Regions from separate parts of the Homo sapiens genome. Here all the other regions are linked to region 4. The links are contacts of gene promoters, found by promoter capture Hi-C in blood cells and fetal thymus (Javierre and others, 2016). All regions are on one chromosome and are shown on one strand. The core of a region is centred on a gene start or on the middle of the fragment in contact, and the rest is flanking DNA. Distances in the headings are between cores, read along the strand shown.

What was found. Contacts are between HindIII fragments. The CHiCAGO score rates a contact against its expected background, and 5 or more counts as called.
Region 1: a fragment that was not itself captured here is called in contact with the fragment with the promoter of TCERG1 in region 4 in 1 of 17 cell types (fetal thymus); the score reaches 6.3 in fetal thymus.
Region 2: the fragment with the promoter of TAF7 here is called in contact with the fragment with the promoter of TCERG1 in region 4 in 6 of 17 cell types (total B cells, total CD4 T cells, fetal thymus and 3 more); the score reaches 10.6 in total B cells.
Region 3: a fragment that was not itself captured here is called in contact with the fragment with the promoter of TCERG1 in region 4 in 1 of 17 cell types (fetal thymus); the score reaches 5.7 in fetal thymus.
Region 5: a contact is called between the fragment with the promoter of BRD8 here and the fragment with the promoter of TCERG1 in region 4, in 1 of 17 cell types (neutrophils). The highest score is 6.7, in neutrophils.

The regions. Positions count from the first base shown.
Region 1 is chr5:140,701,127-140,703,826 of GRCh38, forward strand. It overlaps ZMAT2 (zinc finger matrin-type 2), which reads left to right. Exons shown (of 6, transcript NM_144723.3): 3 at 880-1,003. Among named protein-coding and RNA genes, the nearest start is that of ZMAT2, 2.0 kb to the left of the region's middle. RefSeq lists an enhancer at 1,611-2,153. The HindIII fragment of the contact is 916 bases long and covers 949-1,864 here.
Region 2 is chr5:141,319,520-141,322,219 of GRCh38, forward strand. It overlaps TAF7 (TATA-box binding protein associated factor 7), which reads right to left and starts at 1,265. Exons shown (of 1, transcript NM_005642.3): 1 at 1-1,265. The coding sequence starts at 525. RefSeq lists enhancers at 794-993, 1,574-1,633, 1,644-1,793. The HindIII fragment of the contact is 5,333 bases long and covers 297-2,700 here.
Region 3 is chr5:151,773,061-151,775,790 of GRCh38, forward strand. The region is part of intron 1 of G3BP1 (G3BP stress granule assembly factor 1); the gene reads left to right. Among named protein-coding and RNA genes, the nearest start is that of G3BP1, 2.5 kb to the left of the region's middle. The HindIII fragment of the contact is 297 bases long and covers 1,129-1,425 here.
Region 4 is chr5:146,446,029-146,448,728 of GRCh38, forward strand. TCERG1 (transcription elongation regulator 1) reads left to right here and starts at 1,305. Exons shown (of 23, transcript NM_001382548.1): 1 at 1,305-1,380. The coding sequence starts at 1,322. RefSeq lists an enhancer at 968-1,675 and a silencer at 1,594-1,673. The HindIII fragment of the contact is 4,342 bases long and covers 1-2,700 here.
Region 5 is chr5:138,177,180-138,179,879 of GRCh38, forward strand. It overlaps BRD8 (bromodomain containing 8), which reads right to left and starts at 1,451. Exons shown (of 27, transcript NM_139199.2): 1 at 1,417-1,451; 2 at 392-488. The coding sequence starts at 1,435. It overlaps KIF20A (kinesin family member 20A), which reads left to right and starts at 1,933. Exons shown (of 19, transcript NM_005733.3): 1 at 1,933-2,023; 2 at 2,481-2,666. The coding sequence starts at 2,502. RefSeq lists enhancers at 1,401-1,695, 1,403-1,452, 1,593-1,762. The HindIII fragment of the contact is 9,650 bases long and covers 1-2,700 here.

The DNA.
Region 1 (2,700 bases), core at 157-2,656, 5.7 Mb before region 4:
CTTCCTTGCCCACCCTTTGCTTGGCTCGTTTAATGCTTTCCTGAAGTACAGAGAAGATAACGGCATCCTTAGTAGTGACAGAGAAGTTAAGTAGAGTATTTTGCTGCTGTGCATTACCGCTATCAGTGACCCCCCTCTTTCCCTTGAAATTTCTTAAGGGAGAGAACATTCCTGGCCCAATCAAGACCCTCCCATATAGTCTGAGAAAAGCCGGGGAACTTTGCAGGATCTGTGATTGTTTCAGCTAGAGCTTAGTAGTGCTGTTTCTCTGTGCCTTGTACATCAGGGAGTTGGTGCTTCTCTCCTGTTTAAGAGATTGCATAAAGAAATGTTTTATTTTGTCATCTGTTTCAAACGTGTACATTCTTCTTTCCCTTTACCTCCAGGCCACCTTGCACTCACTAACTCTTTCATTTTTTATGTAACATGTAAAATAAATAGTGCTTGACATGTAACAGGCATTTCCTAGATGTTGGTCCCCTTTTATAAATTTGCCCAGCTCTCAGAAGGTTCCTTTCCGTTATGCCTAGGGTATCTGCCTGAAAGCATTCTTGAATGTCCTTGCTCCCGTTTTGAAAAAGTTGCTTCTAGTAATTCTTCAGAAATTCTCCCCCACAATTCAGTTAATCAATGAATATAAAACATACTGTTTTTAGATTTGCTGGCTTTAAAGTGGAGAAAAGCTGTAGAGTTGAGGATTGCTTATGATTTCTTCCTGTGTTGAGATTCTCCCCAGCTGCTACTTTAAGTGTCTGTTGTGTCCTTTCAGGAATGATTTTGAAATGAGTAAGACCTGAATTTTGGATTTCATGCATTTTTTTTCCTTTCTGGTTGAGGAACTATAATATTGAAGGGACTTCCTTCCCCATTATGTTTCAGGAAAACCAGTGCAGCCTGTCAAGCGAGAGCTTTTACGGCATAGGGACTACAAGGTGGACTTGGAATCCAAGCTTGGGAAGACAATTGTCATTACCAAGACAACCCCTCAATCTGAGATGGGAGGGTGAGTTGCTTATCATTTTTCCTCTGCAGCCAAGAATGCATCTAATAAGCCACCTATTTTGGTTTTAGGAAGTGTTAAGGAAGGTCCTTGGCCCCAGGATTACGTCCTTCTTGCCTGTAATTCTATCTTTATATTTGTTTTTCTGTGTCTCCCAAGGTCTCAAGTTGACATGATAGTGTCTCTAGGAGTGGTCACTCAGTGGGTTTCTTCATGTTATTAGCATTGGCTGGGCACAGTGGCTCACGCCTGTATTCCCAGCACTTTGGGAGGCCAAGGCAGGAGGATTGCTTGAGCCCAGGAATTCAAGACCAGCCTGGGTAACACAGTGAGACCCTGTCTCAATTAAAAAAACCAAAACAAACAAAAATCATACTATGAGCACTACAGCTACTACTCAATATAGTTTTTAAATTTTTTATTGCCATTGTACTTGTTATCAATTCTGATTTACTATTAATATTTTAAAAGGGATTATTTGATCTGTCAGAAGAAGAAATGAAGGAAAGGACTACTGAGGAGATTTCTAGGAGAGAAATTAGGTGGAGCTAGAATAGAGCCTAGGAGTTGTTAATGGTGAAGAAGAGGGGTTTGAGGTTCCAGACTAGCTGCAAAGGCTGTAGTTGTTATGGATGCCTGATTGTACACCTTCTTCCAAGACTATAACCTATAGGAAGAAGGGTCCTACAAGAGCTTGTCACCCTTTTGCCCCCCACTGCTTCTCTGTCCAGTTAGGTTTTCTGGCAGGAGAGCAACACAGATAGCAATGAGTGACACTTCTCTGAGCTGCTTAGTAAACCCACTGTTGTCCATTCCTGTCTGTATTAGTTATCTATTGTTATGTAAATTAACAAATTAACCTAAAGCTTAGCAGCATAAACTACACCACTCACAGTTTCTTTGGGTAAGGAATCTGGGAGTGGCTTACCTAGGTGGTTCTGGCTCAGGGTCTTCATGAAGCTGCAATCAAGGAGTTGGCAAGGTAGGTCTGCATTCATATGAATCTTAAGTGGGGCTGGAAGATCTGCTTCCAAGCTCTCTCACATGCCTGTGGTTTGGAAGCCTAAGTTCTTTGCCCCATAGACCTTTCTTTTTTCTTTTTCTTTTTTCTTTTCTTTTTTTTTTTTTTTCTGAGACAGAGTTTCACTCTTCTTGCCCAGGATGAAATGCAATGGTATGATCTCGGCTCACCACAGCCTCGCCTCCTGGGTTCAAGCGATTCTCCTGCCTCAGCCTCCCAAGTAGCTGGGATTACAGGCATGCACCACCTGATTTTTTTGTATTTTTAGTAGAGACGGGGTTTCTCCGTGTTGGTCAGGCTAGTCTCGAACTCCCGACCTCAGGTGATCCGCCCGCCTCGGCCTCCCAAAGTGCTGGGATTACAGGCGTGAGCCACCATGCCCGGCCACCCCATAGACCTTTCTATAAGACTGCTCACAATAAAGCAACTGGCTTCCCCAGAGCAAGTAACCCAAACAAAGACAGAAGGCATGGTTTTTAAAATAACCTAATTTTGGAAGATACTACTTTTGACATATTCTATTGGCCAAACAGACCAACTCTGGTACAAATTGGGAAGAGACTACACAGAGTAGGAATACCAAGAGGGTGGGGCTCATCCTGGGGCTGTCTTGGAAGATGACTGCTATACTCTCTCGAAAGCTAAGGCTTTATAGAAATGAAGGCTTAACACTTCTAAA
Region 2 (2,700 bases), core at 15-2,514, 5.1 Mb before region 4:
TTCAGCATCTGTACTCAGCAATCGTTTCACTTCTTTTTCAACATCTGGAGATTCAATATATTTCTTCTTTGCTGTCTTCCGGAACCTTCTCTTCCTGACATTCTTTAGAGGCAGAGTAATTCCGTGGTTCCAGATAAACTTTTTCTCTTTGTCCTTATCCTTTTTCTTGCTTGCTTTAGGATCAGTGCTAGCAACTGGCTCCTCCACAGGAGGATAGAGATCACCATCAACTGTGGATACAAGCATCTGACAGATATCAGCTGTCTTGTAAAAAGTTTTTTTATCAATGGTTTTCAAGCTTTCCATAACACAGGGCAGGTCTACTAATTTTGAGGCCAATGGAACACGGTCCACTCTGACGATTCCATGACGCCCATCAGGATGTAACTCAATTGTCAGTCTGTCCTTGAGGTTGACATGACCAGACTGTACTGCCCTTCTCACAGTAGAGGCATATTCTGGAGGCAGACGTAAGATAAACTGGCTCTCCAGTTCGTGAGGAGCATCATCTTTGCTTTTACTCATCTTTATTTCCTTGTGATTCACTTCTCCAATAAATGCTGGTTACACTAAAAAGTTCCAGCTACTGCAATAGTTTAAAACACCAGTTTGCTATGAATTGAAATCTTTTAATTACAAGAAGTTCTCTGTAGATCAGCAGCTAAGCGTCTATTTTGCCTTAGTTTTTATTTAAGCTCCAAGTCTTTTCTCTAAATATGCTGTGACCGAATACCAGTCGTTAACACAAAGGCTTATTCACAGACTTAAGTTCATTAAATCAGATGCAATGCCAAGTCCCAACCTCTAGGTGCCGCTGCCGGACAACGCGGAGAGAGCTAGCTAGCTAGCTAGGGAACAGGAAAGCAAATGGCGGCTCCCCCGGAACGGTTTTCGGCCCAGAAAGCCCAGCAGAGATACTTTCAACTCACAAACTCTCCCGGAACAAAGACACTCAAAAAATCAGGGCTCAGCGAGCTCTCTTCGCCTCGGGTACTTACAATCCAGTGACGATTATAAGTTCAGTTTCACCGGGCCGGAGCGAAGGGAAGAGGAGGCCGCAAGGAGCCAAGCGGGAGAGAGCCGAGCGTCTCCTTGTCGTTTCCTTAATTCTTCCTGCCGCTTGGCAGAGTGATCCACTACCGATTACTGATGAAAGGGCCCGGGATGGGCAGCGCGAAATCTTGCCGAGAGGCGCAGCTCGCATCACCAGACCCCGCACCTCGCCGGCCCTCCGTCCGGGTCGCCTACCCAGCAAAAACGGAAGTGCTACGTCGCGACGCGGGGCGGGAGGCGGCTGTGAGTGACAGCCCCTCCGGGCGGAAGGGCGGAGCCCCAGCTAGCGCAGGCGCAATAGCGCAATTACGCTGCCCAGCGTGAAACTCATCTTTTCGCGAGAACTTGTTTTTCCGGGATGGAAATGACAGTGTTTCGGAAGAGCTGTTGGTTTCAAACTATTTAGAGCTTGGAAGTTCCAAGAAAGACACAGATTCGTCCCCCGCTAAGCCAGCACTTTTACGGGATCGCTGTGGGGCCGGATGGCTTCTAGACTTCCGGGTGATTCCGGGAGATGGGGGACGCCTTGCAGTAAGCGTCTTTGCTTCTGGAAACATCTCGGATGTTCCCTAGAGTCTAGCCTATCTGGTGCCAATACAAGAATGTGTAGCTACTATACAATGGATTTCAAAGTACCCAAATCAATGGAGTGAGGAGGACATGCAGCTTACTATATAAGTCTCTCTCTATATATATGTTTGTTTGTTTGTTTTGGAGATGGAGTCTCAGGCTGTCACCCAGGCTAGAGTGCAGTGGCACAATATTGGCTGACTGCAACCTCCACCTCTGGGGTTCAAGCGATTCTCCTGCTTCAGCCTCTTAAGTAGTTGGGATTACAGGCACGTTCCACTACCCCACCTAAGTTTTGTATTTTTAGTAGAGAAGGGGTTTCACCATGTTGGCCAGGCTGGTCTCGAACTCCTGACCTGAGGTGATCTGCCTGTCTTGGCCTCCCAAAGTACTAGGATTATAGGTGTGAGCCAGCGCGCATGGCCCAAAGTCTGTATTTTTAAATATAATTCCCTGTAGGGGAATTGTGCCTCTGGTTTTACTTGTGTTCTATAATACTTCTGGGGAAACAAGGGTGATTCCTTTTTATGTGCTTGATTTAGATGTAAATGTAAACAGAGAAGGAAGTGTTCTTTTGGACAGAATTGTCTGATAGACTGAGCATCTGGTTAAAGTAGATATAATTGAAGTATTGTTTCCTGTCTCTCATGTACAAGTAATTTTAAATTACTTTGACATTTTTTTTAACTCCACCTCTACTATTTTGCTGTTTTCTGCTTGTCTTTTCTATCAATAGTCAGGTATTCATCAACACATATTTTTAGTATTTTAACATAACTGGGTAACAGTTGGTACTTATTTCTATTTATTTCCATTTATTTTTAAAATATCTGGGAGAGCATCAAGGCCATTAATATTTCATTTCTATCCTCTAAAATATTAACAATTGCCCCTAAATTTAAGAGAATTCTCTTAAGATGTAATTAACATTTCCAAAATTCACTTTATTCTTGTATGATTGAAAGCTCCATGATAGTGATCTTCTTCTATCCTGGTCATTGTGTCCCAGTGCCTAGTACCAGAATGTGGGAGATACACAAAAAATATTTGCTAATTGAATGAAAAAACTTATCTGTC
Region 3 (2,730 bases), core at 27-2,526, 5.3 Mb after region 4:
GAACATGGACTGTGTTCCTCATCGGGTTTGAATCTCAGATTGCTGATGGGAAATTCCCGCCAGCGGGAAGTTAGGCTCCGGTTTTAGACGTTGAATTTTTTTTTCTCTACTTTTTTTTTAATTGGAGGAGACTTTTGCAGAAAGACCTTGAGAAGATTCACTTTATAGTTGAAGGGAATGAGGTGCAAAGCGACGAATTTAAGATCTCACTAGCATCTGTGGGTTAAAATACGGAATTGGAATAGAAAGGTTGGCGCCCAGTTACAGTATACTATTTGGACCTCTGTGGAGCGTGTCATGCTGGATGAATTACTGGTGTTGGAGATGTGTTGGAAAAAACAACTGTGACAGTCGAGATCTGTGGATGAAAGTTTGTGTACACTCCGTTTATTTAGCATTTACTCTGCTGGGTTCTTGTGTATATGCAGAAACAAGATGCTTTTCTTCAGGGACTGGAGCTTATATTTTTCTAGTAGTTACCATCTTTTAGATTATTTAAAAGCCAACATACTCCTTGGCTTAGTGAAATAAATCTTCTATGTTATAGAAACACTTCTATAAACATAAAGATTTCTATAATCGTGTTCTGGAAACCCTTTCTATAAACATGTTTCTATAACAGTATTATAATAATGTTCCAAGTAACATTTACTTGGAACTTTGCTGGTGTGGCGATTCCGGTTACTTGCCCTTACAGACTGGTTAACTATGGAATTAGCATTTTAACTTAGACTTAAAGTTGAGCAATTTAAGTTGTCAAATGGAAAAACACTAGAATGACCTACATTTAAACTGTTTAAGCTTGAGTCCAGCTAATTTTATTACTGCTTGAGGCAAAATAGAATGAAATTACCTTACACATTATTGAGGGAAAATTTCGTTAGTTTCTACTTAAAATATTAAAAAAATACAGTTCTTGGCCTCAGGCAAATGGTTATCACTTGGGCAGGAACATGAAAATTACGTGATTATTTCACAAACTGGTGCTCTAACTGATTACTTGTGCATTTATCAGGAACAAGTGAATTGAAGCAAATTGTGGTAATGTAAGGCTTGGCAAGGCTGCCCTACATCCCTACCAAGTCATACGTCAGTTTTGTTGGAGCTGCTTACCGGTACAAAAGTCTAAGCTTTTGTACCTCTTACAGGTAGAAAAGTAGACAGTTCTTTGTTTAACTCAGTTTGCTGTTCCTGAGCTGACACTGCACCAGGGGAACATTAGGAGATTTTGGTAATGTTTGTTTGTGACCTACTTAGAGCAGTTTTTCTTTTGTAACTTATGGTTTTTTTTTTTCCCACTCGTTCTAGTATTTTGCATAGAAAGTGAACGGCAGAAGGCAGTTTTAAGTTTTTGTAAAAGTTTGTGAATTTTATATCGTCCTTAGGACTGATGGGGCTAGTGTTAAAAGATAAAATTTAACATAAAGCTTACATTTGTGACTAAAGCCAATTTTATATTTTTTTTCTTTATTTTTGTCAGTCTGATAAAACTGCCCACTTGGTCTTTTAACATTTTGCAAATTGATTTTTTTTTTAACTTTCAGAATTTAAATAGGCATTGTATGTTTGTTTAATTATATTGTGCTTTGGCTTCCTTGGACGAAACTATTACTGACTTTACAAAGAAGAATGGATAATTGTGGAAGTAGGTAGGTCAAAAAAAAAAAGGAAAGCCTCGCCCGCCCCCCAGTAATTTGTCAAAAGCAAGTGGGAAAAATCTCTGGTAGTGCAGTACTGCCCTTCCAGTACTCCAGTACAAGCCCTGGAGTTGAATTTAGATTCAGCAACTATTATCTTACATGTAGTTGGTGATCACAATGTGGTGGCACACTAGGTTTATAATTTTATATCTCAGAAATCAGCTATTTACTTTTTTTAAAAAAGTATTCTTGGACATCCTGTCTGTCTTTAGTTGGGAAGGTCAAGTTGCAAGCCAGGTGATAGGGTTAAGAGTAGGAATAATTCACACACACGAATAGTGTCTTAATATTCTGTCTTACAAGGTGGAAAGCAATTTCAAAAAAATTGCCCTCACAGCCTGTAGCTTAGTAAATAAGGTCTTTAGGCGACTTTGTGATAGAGTCCCTCTTCTGTCAGGTGGCCAGTCTGTCATGTAATAAGTTCTTGGTATGTGTGTTGTATCTTAGGTACTTAATCAAAAGTAAAGATTAAAGATGATTGACAGAAATTTGGCTTCCTGGATGGTATACACATCTACTTAGTAGGGATGTAATCTTTGGTGGCTATTAACTTCACTGGCTATATAAAGCATCATTATGTATTTGTGTAACCTTTTGCATATTTAGAGAGTGCTTTCACACATCTTTGGTATTACCATACTTTTACTAAAAAGTGAATTGGAGCTCTGAAACCGAATTGTCAAAACTATTTTGAAAAGCATGTGGTACCTAATAGGGTACTATAGCCAGCTTATTTCCTTAATTGAAAAATCTTAGAGGGATTTTGAATCTGGAATGTATGAATGTGACACCTGCCTGCCCTTGCAGGCTTCTCCCATATGCTGTTTATGCAAAGCCATAGGCTGTGCCTTAAGTACACCCTTGTTTCTGCACTGAGGTTGCCTAGATTTCCCTGGAGTGTATCCACCTGTCTTGATCTGTTTAAGAATTTTGCGGATGAGCATTAGTATTAACTGTAACATATCTTTTCACGTGATGAGAAAGAACAAAGATTTTTTTAAATTGTGAACCTGAGTAGGTTTTAACTTTG
Region 4 (2,700 bases), core at 55-2,554:
TCACCGTGTGAGCCAGGATGGTCTTGATCTCCTGACCTCGTGATCCGCCCGTCTAGGCCTCCCAAAGTGCTGGGATTACAGGTTTGGGCCACCGCGCCCGGCCTATACCATGCTTCTTAACCATGCATCAGCTGATGGTCATTGGGTTGTTACAATACTTTTTGGCTATTATGAATATTGCTGCTGTGAACATTTGTGCACATGTTTTTATGTGGATCCAATTATTTAGGCTTACAGTATTTAAGAGTGCTGCTTTGCTACTACGCTGACTGGGGTTAAGACCAGGCTCTGCTATTTAGTAGATGTGTGACCTTGGGCAAGTTACTTAACTTCTCTGTGCCTCAAGCTCATCTACAAACAGTGACTATGTTACCCACCTCCTAGCAATTTTTGAATCTTAAAAGAGTTAACGTACCTGACATACTTAGATCCGGGTTTGCTACATGGTTAGGTCCAAGTAAAATTTATCTATTAGTATTATTTTAATATTTTTACGACTTTAATAAAAGGGCTCATCTTCATTGTGCCTTTGAAACCCCAAATCCAAAACTTTTTTTTTTGTTAATTAGAAAAACTAAATAAATATTCAGAATTGTCTGGTATTCTGGGTGTGCTAATTTCAGACAAGCACATTTTGAGATCGAGGGAGACGTGGTTAAGCTGTAAATTGCAAAGAGGCTTGCCTTCGCCAATTTACCTTTCTTAATGCAGCAACTTATAACACCTATTGGCTTGCAACGGTTTAGTATAATTTGGGAGGTATTCTTGTAATTAATAATATATTATTTAATAACATGGATATAGAGCTGAGTGGTGACTTAAGACTCCTGCTACTGTAAAGCTAGGAAATAGCGGCTTTCCACAGCAACTGTGCAATCGGTTTAGGCGCGGCCCAGGTCGATTTTGATTGGCTTGCCCAGTGGAAATGCTCTCCGCCTGAGCTACTACTGGCCAATATGGCTCCACAATTGGCTCTCCTGGAAGCCGACAGACACGTGGCTACCGCAGGCTGAGCCGAACTTGGGAGGACTTAGTTCTGCTTACCGCGAGAGGGCGCCGGCGGTTCCTCACTGCTAAAATCTCATTTCCCATAAAGCCCCCGAGTCACCAATCAACTGGCTGTCTTCATACCGCTTTCAAAGTCGGCGGGCGCCTTGCCCAATAGCAAAGAACATATCGCCCCCATTTCGAAGATTGATGGAAAGTTTGACCAACCGCATCTCAGACTTCTGCTGTCTCCGCCTCTCTCGTTGGGGATTGACGATTTTTCTAGCCAATAGGAGACGTCGGGTCGGCGGGTGGATGAACGCGGCCCTCTGTAATGGCGGAGCGTGGCGGGGACGGGGGCGAGAGTGAACGATTCAACCCGGGGGAGCTCAGGTAAGGAACGCTGCCCTCCTTCACATCTCTGCTCACGAGAGCCCCAGAGGCTAGACGCTAGACCTGCCATGTGGAGATCCGGGGCGGACGGTGGGTAGCGGAGCCGGGCGGCCCGGGCCGGGACCGCATGGGGTTTAAGAAGGGGGAAGGGGAAGGTGGCTTGAATGAGAGCCGGGCCCGGGCTGGGCCAGGGCCTCCTGCGCGTTCCCTGGCTGCTTCCTAGTGCTTTCTTGGGGCCTCGCCGCCTCTCGCGGCCTGCAGCCCTCTGGCCGGGCGCGGTGCTCCCGCCTTTGGGCCCCGCCTCAGCCGCGTGTCGCCTCCGTCTCGGCCGACCTGAGTCTGTCCCCAGGCCGCGCTCCGCTGCGGGCCTGATTTTCCTCATCGACGTCTCTGCACTCCGCAGTTACTTTCCCTGTACCCCTCGCCACTTCTGGCTAAGCCTTCTCCACGCCCTCCGCGGCTCTTTGGGCTCCCCACGTTTGCCCTTTCATTTCATCCCCCTCATTGCTTGCCTTTCTTAACTTCTGTGGCTTTTCTTCCTTTTTTCATCCCTTTATTCCTTATTATCCTGTAGTTGTGAGTAACAACAACAGTAGCAACCCCTTATTAGGCACTTACCGTGTGCCAGTAAACCCTTTACTTAGGTTTGTCTCATTTAATCCTCACAACCACCCTTTGGAGTAGTTGCTATTAACATTTTGCAGGCCACAGACCAGAGGGGTCTTCAGTTGTTACTCGCCCATCTTACAGGTGAGATAACAGCCTCGTGGAGGTTGAGTCAGTAGAATAAGATTGCATAGGCGGATTTGTGGCTCCAGGAAGTGGCTTGAACTCAGGCAGTCAGGTTTCAGAGCCTGCAATCCCAATTGGCGTTCTATTCGTCTACTACTCATGCCATTTCCTTGAACAGTGCAGTGACCTTTTTTTCCCCTGGAACCTCAGTGTCTATGAGTTTGTAATTAAAATTTGGTAAAATGAGAGTGACCTGGAGAAATCTTTTGGTCAGTGGTTTTTGAGGAAAAGAGGTATTATGCTTTATGTGTATTTGGTACTTTGGTTTTTTTCTGTATGGGAGAAATGGCATTTCAGATGTTCAGCTCCCATTCTGAATTGTGCTGTTGTCAACGTTTGAAAATGAAAAAGAGCAGGGTAGATTATGAAGACTCTGTTGATACTGTCTTGAACTTAAGATGAAATTGTGTAAGGAAATGGGTATTGTTATTCAAGGTTTTAGAAGAGGAAAATGCCTTTCAGATTCTGTATGGTCGCACACACAAATCTCCACTTTGGCAGAAATGAAATTTTGTTTTATTTCAGAGA
Region 5 (2,700 bases), core at 201-2,700, 8.3 Mb before region 4:
GATTGAGACCATCGTGGCCAACATGGTGAAACCCCGTCTCTACTAAAAATACAAAATTAGCCAGGCATGGCCAGGCGCAGTGGCTCACACCTGTAATCCCAGCACTCTGGCAGGCCGAGGTGGGGGGATCACCTGAGGTCAGGAGTTCGAGACCAGCCTGGCCAACATGGCGAAACTCTGTCTCTACTAAAAAATACAAAAATTAGCTGGGCGTGTCCGCACCACTGCACTCCAGCCTGGGCAACAGAAGGAGACTCAGTCTCAAAAAAAGAAGAAAAAGAAAAGAAAGTCTACTTACAGCTTAATATGATTAACTATAGAAATCTACCGATGTGAAAGAGTATCTAACAATTTCTAAGACCCAGAAAAGCTGACATCCTAGATACCTTACCAATTTTGATCGCCACTTCTCATGACAGAAGATGCTAAACATAGCTTCTCTCGGATGGACCATGGCTCTGTGGGGCCAGTGCTTAGCAGCTTGTGTTCTGGGAAAGGGAGAAAAAAAAAAAAGCCTTGGAAACAACCACTGAGACTGTAGTGCTAAGCTCCAAAATCCCCAAAAAGAGGACTAAAAGCCTAATACAAAACATCCCAACTTGTTAGGACAAAGTGAGCTACTATAACCAAATCTTGATTTTCACCTCTCCAAGTGAAATATCACCAGTGACCGGGGTACCTATTCGTTGCATGTGAATTATTAACATTTTATTTCTTAAAACGCCATGGCTTGAAGCTCCGCTTTATTAAGAAACAGGGAATGTCAGATTAGGCAGTTCTCCCTAAAAGCCCAGTTTTAAGAATACTGGACTTTATTCCAGTTTGAACTTATTCAGGGCTTATTTCCCAGGAACCCGAGCGGCCAGCCCCTCCTACTACCCCGCCTCCCTCTTAGCATAAACTTGTTTACTTCTCTCAGATCCTCTACTCCAAATGTCGGGGGTAAAAGAGCTTTTCAGTCCAAAAAAAGAAAAATGGCTGAAATCCCCGAGATGCAATTTCCTGAGTGGCAAGAAAAGCTCATGGTTAAAAGACCCCACTTCCACTGCCTCACAAACGTCAGACAAAAAAATGAATGGCTCTTTGAGGTGCCGGTTACTCCGTCTGGCTCATAACATCTTTTCGTCTGCACGCCCAAGTTTCTAGAGTGCTTTTACGGTTAACCCGCAGAGTTCCTAACACACTAGGATTCACTAAGCTGCTTCTCTCACACCTCCGCTCTCTCCCTGAGAAACAAGACCCCAGATTTCTGGGCCCCCAAACGTTGGTCTTCACGATGCTGTAGAGCGCAGGTCTCTGAAAACCCTGGGCTCTCAAGCAACCCACTTCTCCCACTCCCTAAGCGTGTAACAAAAATATGGTGCCTAGCCTCGGATCTACAAAGGCCTTTCACGCAAAACCTGCTCAGATACTCACTGCCCGTTCCCGTCGCCATCTTGGCCCCGAAGTCTCCAACCCTGAGGAGAGACGGTCTGGAAGGGCCGAAACCCTGGAATTCTGGGAAATAGTGTACCGGCGTTGGTTCGCGGTGCCTCCTGGGAAATGTCGTTTTTCCCCTTAAGACAAAGCAAGCACCCTAAACCAGTTACCCTGTGCACTCCTGTTAAGATTGTTGCTAAGGAAGGACAGGAGTTGGCTGCTGAAGCCTCAAGATTTCCTTTAGGCTCTTAGGTAAGAAATGTCTAAGGTTCAAGGAAAAAGGTTAAGTTGGAAGAATCCCAGGCAAAATAAGTGCGAATCCACGACAGTTGGTAACCCGGACCCACATTAGAACTCAGAGGTCAAGCAGAAGCGAACGACTGGAATTCCAGTCAGGCCCGCCCCCTTTCCTTACGCGGATTGGTAGCTGCAGGCTTCCCTATCTGATTGGCCGAACGAACGCAGCGCGTAATTTAAAATATTGTATCTGTAACAAAGCTGCACCTCGTGGGCGGAGTTGTGCTCTGCGGCTGCGAAAGTCCAGCTTCGGCGACTAGGTGTGAGTAAGCCAGTATCCCAGGAGGAGCAAGTGGCACGTCTTCGGGTGAGTGTGCGGCTGTGCTGGAGCCCGGGTTACCAGCTCTTGCCCGCGCGGAATAGGCTTTAAGAAATCGGAGCTGCAGCCATCTGTTTTTCTCTTAATGCTGCATCTCTGTTCTCACGGTGGTCCTTGGGGTGAGGTTAGAGAAGGAGCCGAGGGATCCTGACACCACCTCCACAGCACCGGCGGGCGAGGTGCCCTACTTTAGGCGTAGCCTTCTGCTTTTGGAGCCAGATGTCTGTGGACTTCTGTTCGCGTTCAGAAATGCCGCCTCAAACTTCTCTCAATTGTTCATTAAGTGAACTTCTCTCATTCCCTTCCCCTTTGCCGATAATTGGAGGGGAAAAGAAGTAGGAAGCGGGACACGGTGTCCTGGGGCAAGGGACTTATTACCTAAAATTCGCGGCCCCTTCTGTCCCTAAAGGTTCTTCTCCCTGCCCACTTTTTGGTCTCTTTTTAGACCTAGGCTGCCCCTGCCGTCATGTCGCAAGGGATCCTTTCTCCGCCAGCGGGCTTGCTGTCCGATGACGATGTCGTAGTTTCTCCCATGTTTGAGTCCACAGCTGCAGATTTGGGGTCTGTGGTACGCAAGAACCTGCTATCAGACTGCTCTGTCGTCTCTACCTCCCTAGAGGACAAGCAGCAGGTAAAGGAACTGGGGAGTGGCTGGGGCGGAAAGT